Regions from separate parts of the Homo sapiens genome. Here regions 1, 2 and 4 are each linked to region 3. The links are contacts of gene promoters, found by promoter capture Hi-C in blood cells and fetal thymus (Javierre and others, 2016). All regions are on one chromosome and are shown on one strand. Each heading gives the region's core, a stretch centred on a gene start or on the middle of the fragment in contact. The rest is flanking DNA. Distances are from core to core; before and after follow the strand shown.

What was found. Contacts are between HindIII fragments. The CHiCAGO score rates a contact against its expected background, and 5 or more counts as called.
Region 1: the fragment with the promoter of KIAA2013 here is called in contact with the fragment with the promoter of FBXO6 in region 3 in 1 of 17 cell types (neutrophils); the score reaches 8.4 in neutrophils.
Region 2: a fragment that was not itself captured here is called in contact with the fragment with the promoter of FBXO6 in region 3 in 5 of 17 cell types (non-activated CD4 T cells, naive CD4 T cells, fetal thymus and 2 more); the score reaches 7.8 in non-activated CD4 T cells.
Region 4: a fragment that was not itself captured here is called in contact with the fragment with the promoter of FBXO6 in region 3 in 2 of 17 cell types (M2 macrophages and endothelial precursors); the score reaches 7.2 in M2 macrophages.

Annotation. Positions count from the first base shown.
Region 1 is chr1:11,924,338-11,927,716 of GRCh38, reverse strand. KIAA2013 reads left to right here and starts at 1,290. Exons shown (of 3, transcript NM_138346.3): 1 at 1,290-2,512. The coding sequence starts at 1,480. RefSeq lists enhancers at 1,071-1,365, 1,020-1,683, 1,684-2,346 and a silencer at 1,366-1,435. The HindIII fragment of the contact is 9,969 bases long and covers 1-3,379 here.
Region 2 is chr1:11,240,291-11,243,424 of GRCh38, reverse strand. It overlaps MTOR (mechanistic target of rapamycin kinase), which reads left to right. Exons shown (of 58, transcript NM_004958.4): 9 at 125-311; 10 at 1,744-1,872; 11 at 2,878-3,122. Among named protein-coding and RNA genes, the nearest start is that of MTOR, 21 kb to the left of the region's middle. RefSeq lists an enhancer at 1,318-1,877. The HindIII fragment of the contact is 2,081 bases long and covers 474-2,554 here.
Region 3 is chr1:11,662,770-11,665,981 of GRCh38, reverse strand. It overlaps FBXO6 (F-box protein 6), which reads right to left and starts at 1,782. Exons shown (of 6, transcript NM_018438.6): 1 at 1,727-1,782. FBXO44 (F-box protein 44) reads right to left here. Exons shown (of 6, transcript NM_033182.7): 6 at 2,655-3,212. RefSeq lists an enhancer at 1,207-1,256 and silencers at 1,377-1,446, 1,497-1,716. The HindIII fragment of the contact is 5,022 bases long and covers 1-3,212 here.
Region 4 is chr1:11,281,161-11,284,383 of GRCh38, reverse strand. The region is part of intron 1 of UBIAD1 (UbiA prenyltransferase domain containing 1); the gene reads right to left. Among named protein-coding and RNA genes, the nearest start is that of UBIAD1, 9.6 kb to the right of the region's middle. The HindIII fragment of the contact is 2,172 bases long and covers 521-2,692 here.

The DNA of each region.
Region 1 (3,379 bases), core at 41-2,540, 260 kb before region 3:
GATTACAGGCGCCCACCACCACGCCCAGCTAATTTTTGCATTTTTATTTTTTTATTTTTATTTATTTATTTTTTTTTTTTTGAGACAGAGTCTCCCTCTGTCACCCAGGCTGGAGTGCAGTGGCGCGATCTTGGCTCACTGCAAGCACCGCCTCCCGGGTTCACGCCATTCTCCTGCCTCAGCCTCCCGAGTAGCTGGGACTACAGGCGCCTGCCACCACGCCTGGCTAATTTTTTATATTTTTAGTAGAGACAGGGTTTCACCGTGTTAGCCAGGATGGTCTCGATCTCCTGATCTCGTGATCTGGCGGCCTCGGCCTCCCAAAATGCTGGGATTACAGGCGTGAGCCACCGTGCCCAGCCTAATTTTTGTATTTTTAGTAGAGACAGGTTTTCACCATGTTGGTCAGGCTGGTTTCGAACTCCTGACCTCAAGTGATTTGCCCATCTCAGCCTCCTAAAGTGCTGGAATTACAGACGTGAGCCACCACTCCTGGCCTCTGGTGGTTCCCCTTCCCCTCCTCCTCCCTTTTCCTTTCTTCTTCTTTCTTCCTCTTCTTCTCTCTCCTTTTTTTTTCCTCCACTTTTTCGTATTGTTCCAAGTGTTTTTTTGCAGTGAGGATAGTCTTTTTTTTTTTTTTTTTTTTTGAGACAGAGTCTCACTCTGTCGCCCAGGCTGGAGTGCAGTGGCGTGATCTCGGCTCACTGCAAGCCTGCAACCTCCGCCTCACGGGTTCAAGCAGTTCTCCTACCTCAGCCTCCTGAGGAGCAGGGATTACAGGCATGCGCCACCACGCCCGGCTAGTTTTTGTATTTTTAGTAGAGATGGGGTTTCACCATGTTGGTCAGGCTGGTCTCAAACTGCTGACCTCGTGATCCGCCCGCCTTGGCCTCCCAAAGTGCTGGGATTACAGGCGTGAGCCACCGCGCGCGGCGAGAGGATGGTCATTTTTACAGAAACAAAGTTGTTGTGTGTGTGTGTGTGTATGTTTTTAAATTTTGGGGCTGTTGAATCCATCAGTAGCAAAGGGGCCCAACACGTGTTCGGTTTGGCTGGCTCGATGTTTTTTTCACGAGTGAATTGGATGCTTCCAGTCCTCCCCAGACCCCTGCACTTAACTCCACTGGACTTCACTCTTCCGGCCTGGGAACGAGTGGTCCCGCCCCCGGCAGCTTTTGTCCCGCCCTCGCCGTGGCTCCGCCCCCTTCTCTCCGGCCTGCTCTCTCTCCTCCCTCCGCCCTCCCGTTTTCCATCTGTCGTAAAAGACACGGCGACGCTTGACCGCCGGCGTCGTTTGACGGCTGGAGGCCACCGAGAAGAAGGAGGAAGCAGGGGTGGCGGCTGCTGCGGCGGTTGCGGCGGGGGCCGGGGTGGGCGCCGCGGTCCGGGCCGGGCAGTGAGGCGCGGGCGGCCGGGCCGGTGGGCTGGGCGGCGGGCCCGGCGGCCGCCCTCGCACCCTTGCCCGCGCCTGGCGGCCCGATGTGGCTGCAGCAGCGGCTCAAGGGGCTGCCGGGACTGCTGTCGAGCAGCTGGGCCCGCCGCCTCCTCTGCCTGCTTGGCCTCCTGCTGCTGCTTCTGTGGTTTGGGGGGTCCGGCGCGCGGCGGGCGGCGGGCGGCCTGCACCTGCTGCCCTGGTCCCGCGGTGAGCCGGGCGCCGCCGAGCCGTCTGCCTGCCTGGAGGCGGCCACCCGCGCCTGGCGCGGCCTGCGGGAGCGCGGTGAGGTGGTACCGCTGGGTCCTGGAGTGCCGGCCCTGGTGGCCAACGGCTTCCTGGCCCTGGACGTGGCTGCCAATCGGCTGTGGGTGACTCCCGGGGAGCGGGAGCCCGCCGTGGCGCCGGACTTTGTGCCCTTCGTGCAGCTGCGCCCGCTGAGCGCGCTGGCTGAAGCTGGAGAGGCGGTGCTGCTGCTGCGGGAGGGGCTTCTGCGCCGCGTGCGTTGCCTGCAGCTGGGGTCCCCAGGTCCTGGCCCCGTGGCCGCCGGCCCCGGGCCCGCCTCCGTCTCTGGCCTTGCCGCGGGGTCCGGCCGCGACTGCGTGCTGCTGCAAGAGGACTTTCTGGCGCACAGGGGCCGACCCCACGTCTACCTGCAGCGCATCCAGCTCAACAACCCCACGGAGCGCGTGGCCGCGCTGCAGACTGTGGGGCCCACTGCCGGCCCAGCCCCCAAGGCCTTCACCAGTACCCTGGAGAAGGTCGGAGACCATCAGTTCCTCCTCTACTCAGGCCGGTCCCCGCCTACGCCCACTGGGTTGGTGCACCTGGTGGTGGTGGCCGCCAAGAAGCTGGTGAACCGCCTCCAAGTGGCTCCCAAGACGCAGCTGGATGAGACGGTGCTGTGGGTGGTGCACGTCTCTGGCCCCATTAACCCCCAGGTGCTCAAAAGCAAAGCAGCCAAGGAGCTCAAGGCGCTGCAGGACTTGGCACGGAAGGAAATGCTGGAGCTCTTGGACATGCCAGCGGCGGAGCTGCTTCAAGACCACCAGCTCCTCTGGGCTCAGCTCTTCAGCCCAGGTGAGTCCTGGCCAGCGCTTGGTCCACCCTAGATATGTCCCTCCCAAGTCTGCAGAGGTGACACTGAAGGTGATGGTGGGGTGGTTGAAACTTGGGCTTGGCGTTTCACCAGTGGTTGAATCTGCTCAACTGCTTAGTGTCTGTGCGACCTTTGGATTCGTCGCCTAATCTCTCTGGGCCTGTATTTAATAACAATAACGCCTACCTCAGAAGGTTTTTATGAGACTGTAGTGGACAATTGAGTGTAAAGGTCAATTCTTTCTGTTACTTGTTTTGGTAGATGGGGCCTGATGTGAGCAGAGTGAAGTGTTTTAGAGTCAGTTTGCAGAGGTGAAACCAGCAGGTGGATCCCCTGATTCTTTGCTCAGCACCGCAGTCGGCCTGGTGACAGACGTGGGCTTCTTGACATAACCCCTGCTAGGCTGAGGTGCGTCCTGGCAGTTGTGGCTGCAACTGGTTCACAGGGAGGTTGGAGAATCCCTTTTAGCAGGTTGAGATGCTCCCGCCCGATGAAAACTCTCCTCTCGTTGACTGTTAAAGAAAAGAAAATCCTGTTCTGGATGAGAGAGGGGTTTTGGTTTCCAGGGTTCCAATTGTCTGAACCTTTGTGTTTGGTTGCTCAGAGAGTTGAGTTCATTCAGCAAGTATCTATTGAATGCTTCTGCCAGGGCTGTTCTATGCATGGGGGGGTGCAGATGGGAACCAGAGTTCCTGTTCTCATGGTGCTTGCTTAAATTCTGGTTGGGAGGAAGACAGACATTAGAAAAGTGAAAATTAAAATTAAAATAAGGCATCTTTTTAGGCTAGAATGTGCTGGCTGGGCGCGGTGGCTCACGCTGTAATCCCAGCACTTTGGGAGGCTGAGGC
Region 2 (3,134 bases), core at 265-2,764, 420 kb after region 3:
CCACTGTGCCTGGCCACTTTCTTAATTTATTCTTAAACTGAATTGCTTTATAGGACCTTTGACTGTTGATATGTAGACCCTAACCCTGACCTGGAGCTATCTACTTTGTCTTTTCTGTGCTCAGATACCCAGTATCTCCAAGATACCATGAACCATGTCCTAAGCTGTGTCAAGAAGGAGAAGGAACGTACAGCGGCCTTCCAAGCCCTGGGGCTACTTTCTGTGGCTGTGAGGTCTGAGTTTAAGGTCTATTTGCCTCGCGTGCTGGACATCATCCGAGCGGCCCTGCCCCCAAAGGACTTCGCCCATAAGTAAGCACCTCTGTTATGATTTCACCTTCCACTCCATTTGGTTGGAGAGGAAGGACGCTCTATTTCAGATCCACGGAGCTTACGCCCATTTTTTGCATCATTAAACTCCAGGGTATAGCAAATCATATGAAGAACAGCCCTTCCTTAGTTGAATTCTAAGCTTTTCCAAATGAAATAACATATATGAAATATTTGGGGAGGTTGAATACCCTGAGAACATGTGAGATGCCAATGCTATTTTCAGTGTTATTATTTACTGGGAATCTGCTAGTTTTGCTTTTTTCTCTGGCTTTTAAAAGTCTTATTTTGATATAAGACCTAAAGAGAGGAATCCTTGACTGGAACTGAAGGGACCTAAGGGTCATCTTTTTCCTCATCGCTGAAGTTGAATAAGTTATTCCACCTCTTTAAACCTCCTGGCGAATAAAATATGAGAAAACCCCTCAGCATCCTGCCAGATGGAGAGACTGGGGTGTCTTCGCTAAGGCGAGGGGGTCAGTGTTCATCATCCTTTGTCTCAGGTTGTCTTTATACTTCCCTGTTTATTAGCGAAGATTGCTGTGGTGAATTAATACGCCCCACTCATTCTTTTTTTTTTTTTTTTTTTTTTTTTGAGATGGAGTCTTACTTTGGTTGCCCAGGCCGGAGTGCAGTGGCACGGTCTTGGGTCACTGCAACCTCCTCCTCTCAGGTTCAAGCGATTCTCCTGCCTCAGCCTCCTGAGTAGCTGGGATTACAGGCATGTGCCACTATGCCAAGCTAATAATTGTATTTTTTTGTAGACACAGGTTTTCACCATTTTGGCCGGGCTGGTCTCGAACTCCTGGCCTCAAGTGATCCACCCACCTTAGCCTCCCAAGTAGCTGGGACTACAGGCGTGTGCCAGCACGCCCAGCTAATTTTTGTATTTTTAGTAGAGGCGGGGTTTCACCATGTTGGCCAGGCTGGTCTCGAACTCCTGACCTCAGGTGATCCACCCACCTCCGCCTCCCAGAGTGCTGGGATTACAGGCGTGAGTCGCTGCGCCTGGCCCCATTCTAAAGCCCAGCATTCTCATCATAGAAGAATTTCTTTCCATATGATGGCTGTGTACTGCCTTCTTGTCCCTGATGAACACATTGTTCAGCTCTCTTCCTACATAATTATCTTGGTGAGCACCACAATAACCCATATGGTATAGCTGTGTGAATTCAGAAAAAAGGCCCCTTCCTTAAGACACTTTACTGCCATCTGCTGGATTGTTGTAGAAATGTACAAATCTACAGTAATTGTGATGTGATGGGTCCCTTTGAACTGTGCTCTGGACAATTTGCATACCCATCTGTGGTAGCCCTGCCTGAGTAACCTGCTCTCCTTGCCCCAAGGTGATTTTGAGGTGGGACATTAAAGAATGTCATTATGTCTCAACTAGCCACTCTCCATTTCTCTACAGGAGGCAGAAGGCAATGCAGGTGGATGCCACAGTCTTCACTTGCATCAGCATGCTGGCTCGAGCAATGGGGCCAGGCATCCAGCAGGATATCAAGGAGCTGCTGGAGCCCATGCTGGCAGTGGGACTAAGGTGGGTGTCAGAAACCTGAGCTTGCCCTGTATCAGCGTGAGGCTTGGCCCCCAGTGTTGGGACTGTTAAAAGAATGAGGCATGGTTGTTTGCACATTCAACTGGATGGACAGGATAGCTTAGACTAAACACACAGGCTAGTACTGAATCCTAGTTTCATCACTAGCTTTCTATATGATCTTGACTAAGTTATTTAATTTCCCCGAGCCTCATTTTTTTTTTTTTTTTTTTTTGAGAAGGGGTCTCGCTCTGTCGCCCAGGCTGGAGTGCAGTGGCCCAGTCTTGGCTCACTGCAAGCTCCGCCTCCCGGGTTCACGCCATTCTCCTGCCTCAGCCTCCTGAGTAGCTGGGACTACAGGCGCCTGCCACCACGCCTGGCTAATTCTTTGTATTTTTAGTAGAGTTGGGGTTTCAGTGTGTTAGCCAGGATGGTCTCGATCTCCTGACCTTGTGATCCGCCCACCTCGGCTCCCAAAGTGCTGAGATTACAGGTGTGAGCCACCGCGCCTGGCCTCATTTTTTTTTTTTAATCTGAAAAGTGGGTGCAATAGTAATTCTTATTGCCTAGGGTTGCTGTGGGTTCATGGTATAGTCACTCTTAGCACCATGCCTGGCATATAGGAAGTACTCAATAAATATTTGCAAATATTGTGTATATTATTATTGAGCAAGTTGCTTAAGCTTCCTAAACTAAGTTCTCTTCATCTGTAAAATAAGGACAGTGTTCTTAATCTGCTTCCCAGAGTGTTTGTTGAGACTTGGTCTTCTGTAGTGGCTGAATTATAGTGAGCAAGTCTTCTGTGGCAAGAACCAGAAACTCATAGATTGTTTGGAGACCTGAGACTAAGCCAAGAGAGTTTACACTTTTATTCTTATTTTATAATATCCTTTCTACTCTGAAGAACAGAGGCCTGATCCCCTTGCTGGGAGAGAAAGCTGTTTCTTCCCAAGAACAGACTGAGTGTCATGTGCCCAGCCCTTATGTGACTTGTTTCCTTCCCCTCAGCCCTGCCCTCACTGCAGTGCTCTACGACCTGAGCCGTCAGATTCCACAGCTAAAGAAGGACATTCAAGATGGGCTACTGAAAATGCTGTCCCTGGTCCTTATGCACAAACCCCTTCGCCACCCAGGCATGCCCAAGGGCCTGGCCCATCAGCTGGCCTCTCCTGGCCTCACGACCCTCCCTGAGGCCAGCGATGTGGGCAGCATCACTCTTGCCCTCCGAACGCTTGGCAGCTTTGAATTTGAAGGTAAGAAATTAC
Region 3 (3,212 bases), core at 533-3,032:
CAAGTCTTCTAAGTTCTGAGAAGCAACTGTAAGCATTTGAAAAAAAATGTAAAAGTTGTCAATTAAAAATGCTTGTAGTCTAGGCAACATAGTGAGACTCTGTCTCTAGAAAAAAAGAAATTAGGTCGGGTGCACAGACTCAGGCCTGTATTCCCAGCACTTCGGTAGGCCGAGGCGGGCGGATCACAAGATCAGGAGTTCGAGACCAGCCTGGCCAATATGGCGAAACCCCGTCTCTACTAAAAATACAAAAATTAGCTGGGCGTGGTGGCGGACGCCTGTAGTCCCAGCTACTCGGGAGGGTGAGGCAGGAGAATCACCTGAACCCGGGAAGCGGAGGTTGCAGTGAGCCGAGATCGTGCCACTGCACTCCAGCCTGGGCAACAGAGTGAGAATCTGTCTCAAAAAAAAAAAAAAAAAAAAAAAAGGCCGGGCGCGGTGGCTCACGCCTGTAATCCCAGCACTTTGGGAGGCCGAGGTGGGCGGATCACGAGGTTAGGAGATCGAGACCGTCCTGGCTAACACAGTGAAACTCCATCTCTACTAAAAATACAAAAAATTAGCCGGGCTTGGTTGCAGGTGCCTGTAGTCCCAGCTACTCGAGAAGCAGGTGCCTGTAGTCCCAGCTACTCGGGAGGCTGAGGCAGGAGGACGGCCTGAACCCGGGAGGCGGAGCTTGCAGTGAGCTGAGATCGCGCCACTGCACTCCAGCCTGGGCGACAGAGCGACACTCCGTCTCAAAAAAAAAAAAAAAAAAAAAAAAAAAGAAATTAGCTAGGCCTGGTGGCCCGTGCCTGTAGTCCCAGCTATGCAGGAGGCTGAGGCAGGAGGAACGCTTGAGCCCAGGAAGTCGAGGCTGCAGTGAGCCGTGATCATGCCACTGCACTCCAGCCTGGGTGACAGAGCAAGACTCTGCCATAAATAAATAAATAAATAAATGCTGGCAGCTTCTAAAGGCACTGTCTAGACTCTAGACGAAATAAAAGTCACTGGGCTCCAAGCTAGAGGCATCTAGGCACCAATAGCTTCCCACCGTGGTGACCGAAGTCTGGTCTCTGGCCCAGTCCGCATTTTCTTGCGCCCCTTCCCCCCCCCGGCCCTGGGCATTTTGTGGTGGGGAAGTCCATGCCAGCCCTAGGAAGCCCTCTCACACCGATCGGGGTCCCCAACTGCCCGGCCCGGCGTCTCGTGCTCGCCTTCTCCGCACCCACCCTCCCAGCAAGCTCTAGTGGCATTGTTACTTCACCGGTTTCTCGGAAACAGAAACTGTGGCTGGGGCAAGGCAAGCGCCGGATCTCGCAGGCGTGTGGGGGCCTGGAGGTCCCTTGACAGTTCTCCGAACCCGGCGCCGGCCTCGGGATGTGGCCGGGGTGGAGGCGGCCGCAGAGCCTCCGCCTGGGTGGCCCCGGGGCCAGGCCCCCAGTCGAAGTCCGGGCCCAGCCGCCCGCGCCCCCCACCCCTGGCCGCCCGGACCAGCGCCCGCAGGCTCCGTGAACGCCCAGGCGCCGGAGACCCCGGCTCCCCACTCGCCCGCCGCCCGTCCCCCCGGGGACGCGACCTGGGCGCAGCGGCGGAGCTCCAGGTCGGCCCGAGCCTACGGCCTCGGCTTCGTTGTCGCTGGGCCCCGCCGCCGCGTCACGCGCTGCGCTCGGTCCCCACCCCCGCCCCGGACCCCGCTGCCGTCCCTCTCGGCCCGGCCCCTAACCCTCGCCGCGGGAAGACGAACCTGGGATCCCCAGGGCCCGGGCCCTCGCTGCGGCCTGCGTGTCCTGAAGCTGTCTCCCCCTCCAGGCGGCGGGCGGCTCAGCACCCACACCTGCACCCGCCTCCTACGCAGGGCCGAAGCTCCCGAACGCGCGGCCGCTCCCCGGACCTCCGCACTAGTTCCTTCCTTATGCGGCCCAGGGCTCCACCCTTGACCCGCGGTCCCCTCCCTAGAGGCAGGACCTGACACCCAGTGGGCTCCTTCTTTCCCTAGGGCGTGACCTCCGCAGGCTTCATAGACTCAAAGGTAAAAAACCTGAGGTGCTAGGAGGTGGCTAACGCCTGTGATCCCAGCACTTTGGGAGGCCGAGGTGGGGAGGATCGCTTGAGGTCAGGAGTTCGAGACCAGCCTGGCCAACATGGCAAAAACCCTGTCTCTACTAAATATACAAAAATTAGCCGGGCGTGGTGGCACAGGTCTATAATCCCAGCTCCTCCGGAGGCTGAGGTGGGAGAATCGCTTGAACCTGGGAGGCTGCAGTGAGTGGAGACTGTACCACTGCACTGCAGCCTGGGCGACAGAGCCAGACCTTGTCTCAAAAAATAAAAAACCTCTGAGGTTTTTTATCAGGATTAAGTTCATGAATTTCTTCCATCAGTCAACAAATATTTAGCAAGCACCTTGTTCAGGCAACCACCAAGGGTTGTGCAGGCTGTGTACTGCACAAGGGGACTGGCCCAGGACACATTAATTGCAGTCAGGGCTACATGTTCTCCGTGGAAGGCCGTCCTTTTGCAGTTTGCCATGGGCTGGTGGGTGGTGATCCTGCCCTGGCCAAAGCCCTTATCTAGCTCACCCTTGACTGAGATAGCTAAATGTGAGGAGTACTTATTGAGCACTGGATTATAGTCCATGTTCACACTGCTATAAAGAAATACCCGAGACTGGGTGATTTATAAAAGGAAAGAGGTTTAATTGACTTATAGTTCCATATGGCTGGGGAAGCCTCAAGAAACAATCGCTGGGCGCGGTGGCTCACGCCTGTAATCTCAGCACTTTGGGAGGTCGAGGTGGGTGGATCACGAGGTCAGGAGATTGAGACCACCCTGGCCAACATGGTGAAACTCCATCTCTACTAAAAATACAAACAAAATTAGCCGGGCATGGTGGTGGGCGCCTGTAGTCTCAGCTACTCCAGAGGCTGAGGCAGGTGAATGGCGCGAACCTGGGAGGCAGAGCTTGCAGTGAGCTGAGATTGCGCCACTGCACTCCAGCCTGGGCGACAGAGCGAGACTCCATCTCAAAAAAAAAAAAAAAAAAAAGAAAAGAAAAGAAAAAAGGAACTTACAATCATGGTGGTGGAAGGTGAAGGGGAAGCAACGACCTTCTTCACATGGCGGCAGGAGGGAGCCGGGGAAACCGTCACTTGTAAAACCATCAGATCTCGTGAGAACTCACTCACTATCATGAGAACAGCATGGGGGAAAACCGCTCCCATAATCCAATC
Region 4 (3,223 bases), core at 357-2,856, 380 kb after region 3:
CAGATCTTTAACCTGGCTCACCTGTGGCCCAGCCCTACCTCTCCTGCCTCACCTTGAGCTCTCCTCCCCTCTTCACACAGACTTCTTCCAATCCGTCAGAGCCTTCAGACACCCCTCCCTTGGCCTGGCTAACTCTACTCACCCTTTAAGACTTTAAAGACCATTCCCCAGGACCACCTCCTCTCACCCCTAAGCCACATTTGATCCCCTTGCAATATGCTCCCATGGCAATATGCCTGCCATGTTCATAAACTTCATCATGCTTCTAATTAATCTCCACCTTTCTCACTAAACTGTAAGTTCCATGAGGGCAGGACATGTGTCTGGCTTGGTCACAGCTCACTCCCCAATACTTGGCACAAGGGCTGAACTGAAGACAGAGCTACAGTAACAAGCACCTGGAATTTGGGATCAAGGTCAGGAAAGATCTCCCACTCAGACTGAAACAGGTAAAGCAGTATGGAATGAGTGGAGCTGCCCACTGAGGGAGGTGACCCATGCAATTATTGCTACAGAAGCTTAGCAAACTCCAGTTCTAACCAAGCTACAAGATGTGGACTCAAGATCAGAAAATAAAGCTCTGGTTAGGCATTTTAACCAGTCTAAAATGACAGAAGTTCCCACTAGCCACAGGAATCAAAATGAAATAAAATGACAGGAGCTAAGGAACAAGATCCAGTCCAAGTTCACCTTCACATCAGCAGCTGGGGTCCCTTGGTGCTAAATACACACCCTTAGTTCTTCAGAACAAAGTATCTCCAGGGAAGGGCATTAAGGCATGGCCACTGACACTCTTCAACATTCAGCAAGCTAATTCTGCACCCTCAAGCCATATTTTTTTTCCTTCTATTTGGATAATTTTTATACCAAGCCATGTTTTCATAAATAATTTGGTTGTATGAGGACATGCCCTCCAGGAGGAAGTTCCCTCAAGCAGAGCACGAGCTCCAGTTCAGAATTAGTAAATTGACGTCTCTTCCAATATCTCACACATTTAAGGGACTACACCCACGCAAAGATGATGCTGGGCAGGAATACTCCCAGCACAGACCTAGCCAGTTCCTCTACAGCTGCCCACTCTTGCTGTGCTTGTTTTCTCAGCTCCCCAAGTGACGCCACTGGTCTGGCTGTGAAAGAAAATGCAACAGCACTACAGCCTTGACCTTTGGCTGGAGTCTCCAAGAACACCTCCTTAGATCACTCGGCAAAAAGCAATGTAAGCGGCCAGGTATGGTGGCTCACGCCTGTAATCCCAGCACTTTGGGAGGCTGAAGCAGGTGGATCACCTGAGGTCAGGGGTTCGAGACCAGCCTGACCAACATGGAGAAACCCCATCTCCACTAAAAATACAAAAAATTAGCCGGGTGTAGTGGCGCATGTCTGTAATCCCAGCTACTCGGGAGGCTGAGGCAGAAGAACCGCTTGAACCCTGGAGGCAGAGGATGTGGTGAGCCGAGATCGTGCCATTGCACTCCAGCCTGGGCAACAAGAGCAAAACTCCGTCTCAAGAAAAAAAAAGGCCAGGCACAGTGGCTCACGCTGTAATTCCAGCACTTTGGGAGGCCACAGCGGGTGGATCAACTGAGGTCAGGAAGTCAAGACCAGCCTGACCAACACGGAGAAACCCCATCTCTACTAAAAATACAAAAAAAAATTAGCCGGGCATGGTGGTGCACGCCTGTAATCCCAGCTACTCGGGAGGCTGAGGCAGGAGAATCGCTTGAACCAGGAGGCAGAGGTTGCAGTGAGCAGAGGTCGCACCATTGTACTCCAGCCTGGTCAACAAGAGCTAAACTCTGTCTTTTGAAAAAAAAAAAAAAAAAAAGTGATGTAAGCAAGGTTGAGCAGAGATCTCTGTCCCCACCCCAAAACCAAGAGCAACCCACTCTGGGGAGGAAAAAGATCTGGTTATCTGACACAAGAAAACAGTAGAGCCCTTGGGGAGAAAGCTGTTTCCTAGCATTTGATACATGGCCCAAGGCTTCATGTGCTCTACCTGATTCAGAGACGTGGCCCATCTGGGAATTTCCTTTTAGGCATTCCTCCTCTCCCAACCCCATTTTCTGAATGAGCTTACACAGTGAAATACTGGGCCGGTTCTCCACACGGCAGCCAGAATGAATCTGTTAAGACTTAAGTCAAAAAGTTGGCAAGACGCAGAGCAACTGGAACACTTGCTGGGGGGAGTGTAAAGAAGTACAACCACTTCAGAAAACAGTTTGGCAGTTTCTCATAAAATTAAACATCATCTGCCCTGTGACCCAGCAATTCTACTCCTGGGCATTTACCCAAGAAAAATGAAAACAAATATCCACAAAAAGACTTGAACATGAATGTTCAGACGTAATAGCCAAAATATGGAAGCAATCCAAATGTCCCTGAAAAGGAGAATGGATAAAAAGAAGTTGTGGTATGTTACAATGGAATGCTAGTCAGCAAAAAAAGGAACTACTGATACACGCAATAAAACAATGAATCTCAAAAACATCACGCTGAGCAAAAGAAGCCAGACGAGAGCTCAGACTGAAATAAATACACATACATACATACATACATAGTTCATAGTGAAAGGTTCCATTTATATGACAGGCAAAACTAATCTCTGTGAGAGGAATCAGAACAGTGGTTCTTTTCCTGTCTCTGGATGGGGGCAGGGAGTGTGGGATTGACAGGCAAGAAGCACTGGGAAGCTTTTGGGGGTGATGGAAGTGTTCTGGATGATGACGGGGTGTGGGTTATGCAACTGTATACATTTATCAAAATTCATCAAGCTGCAACACTAAAAACCTGTGCATTTCACTGTGTGTCAATTATATGTCAATAAAAGACAATGTTTAAAAAATCTTAAACCAGATTATGTCACTACTCTGCTCAGTATATTTCAATGCCTTCCCATTTGTTCACTGGATATTTACTAAGTAATATTACATGCCAGGCAGTGCTCTGGGTGCTAGGGGTTCAGCTAATACCAGAGACAGAAATCCCTGACTGCAGGGAGGGAGCTCGCAGTCGAAGGGGGAAGATAATTAACCAATTAAGTACTTTATATGGCACATTAGAAGGTAACATGTGCTATGAGGAAAACTAATGCAGAGAAGAGCAGCAGGGGAAGTATCAGGTGGGGGCACGGAGTGGGTGTGTAATTTTAAGCAAGGTAGAAAGCAAGGCCTCACTGAGCAGCTGACATTTGGGCAAATAGGTGAAGGAAGTGAGAAAGTGAACC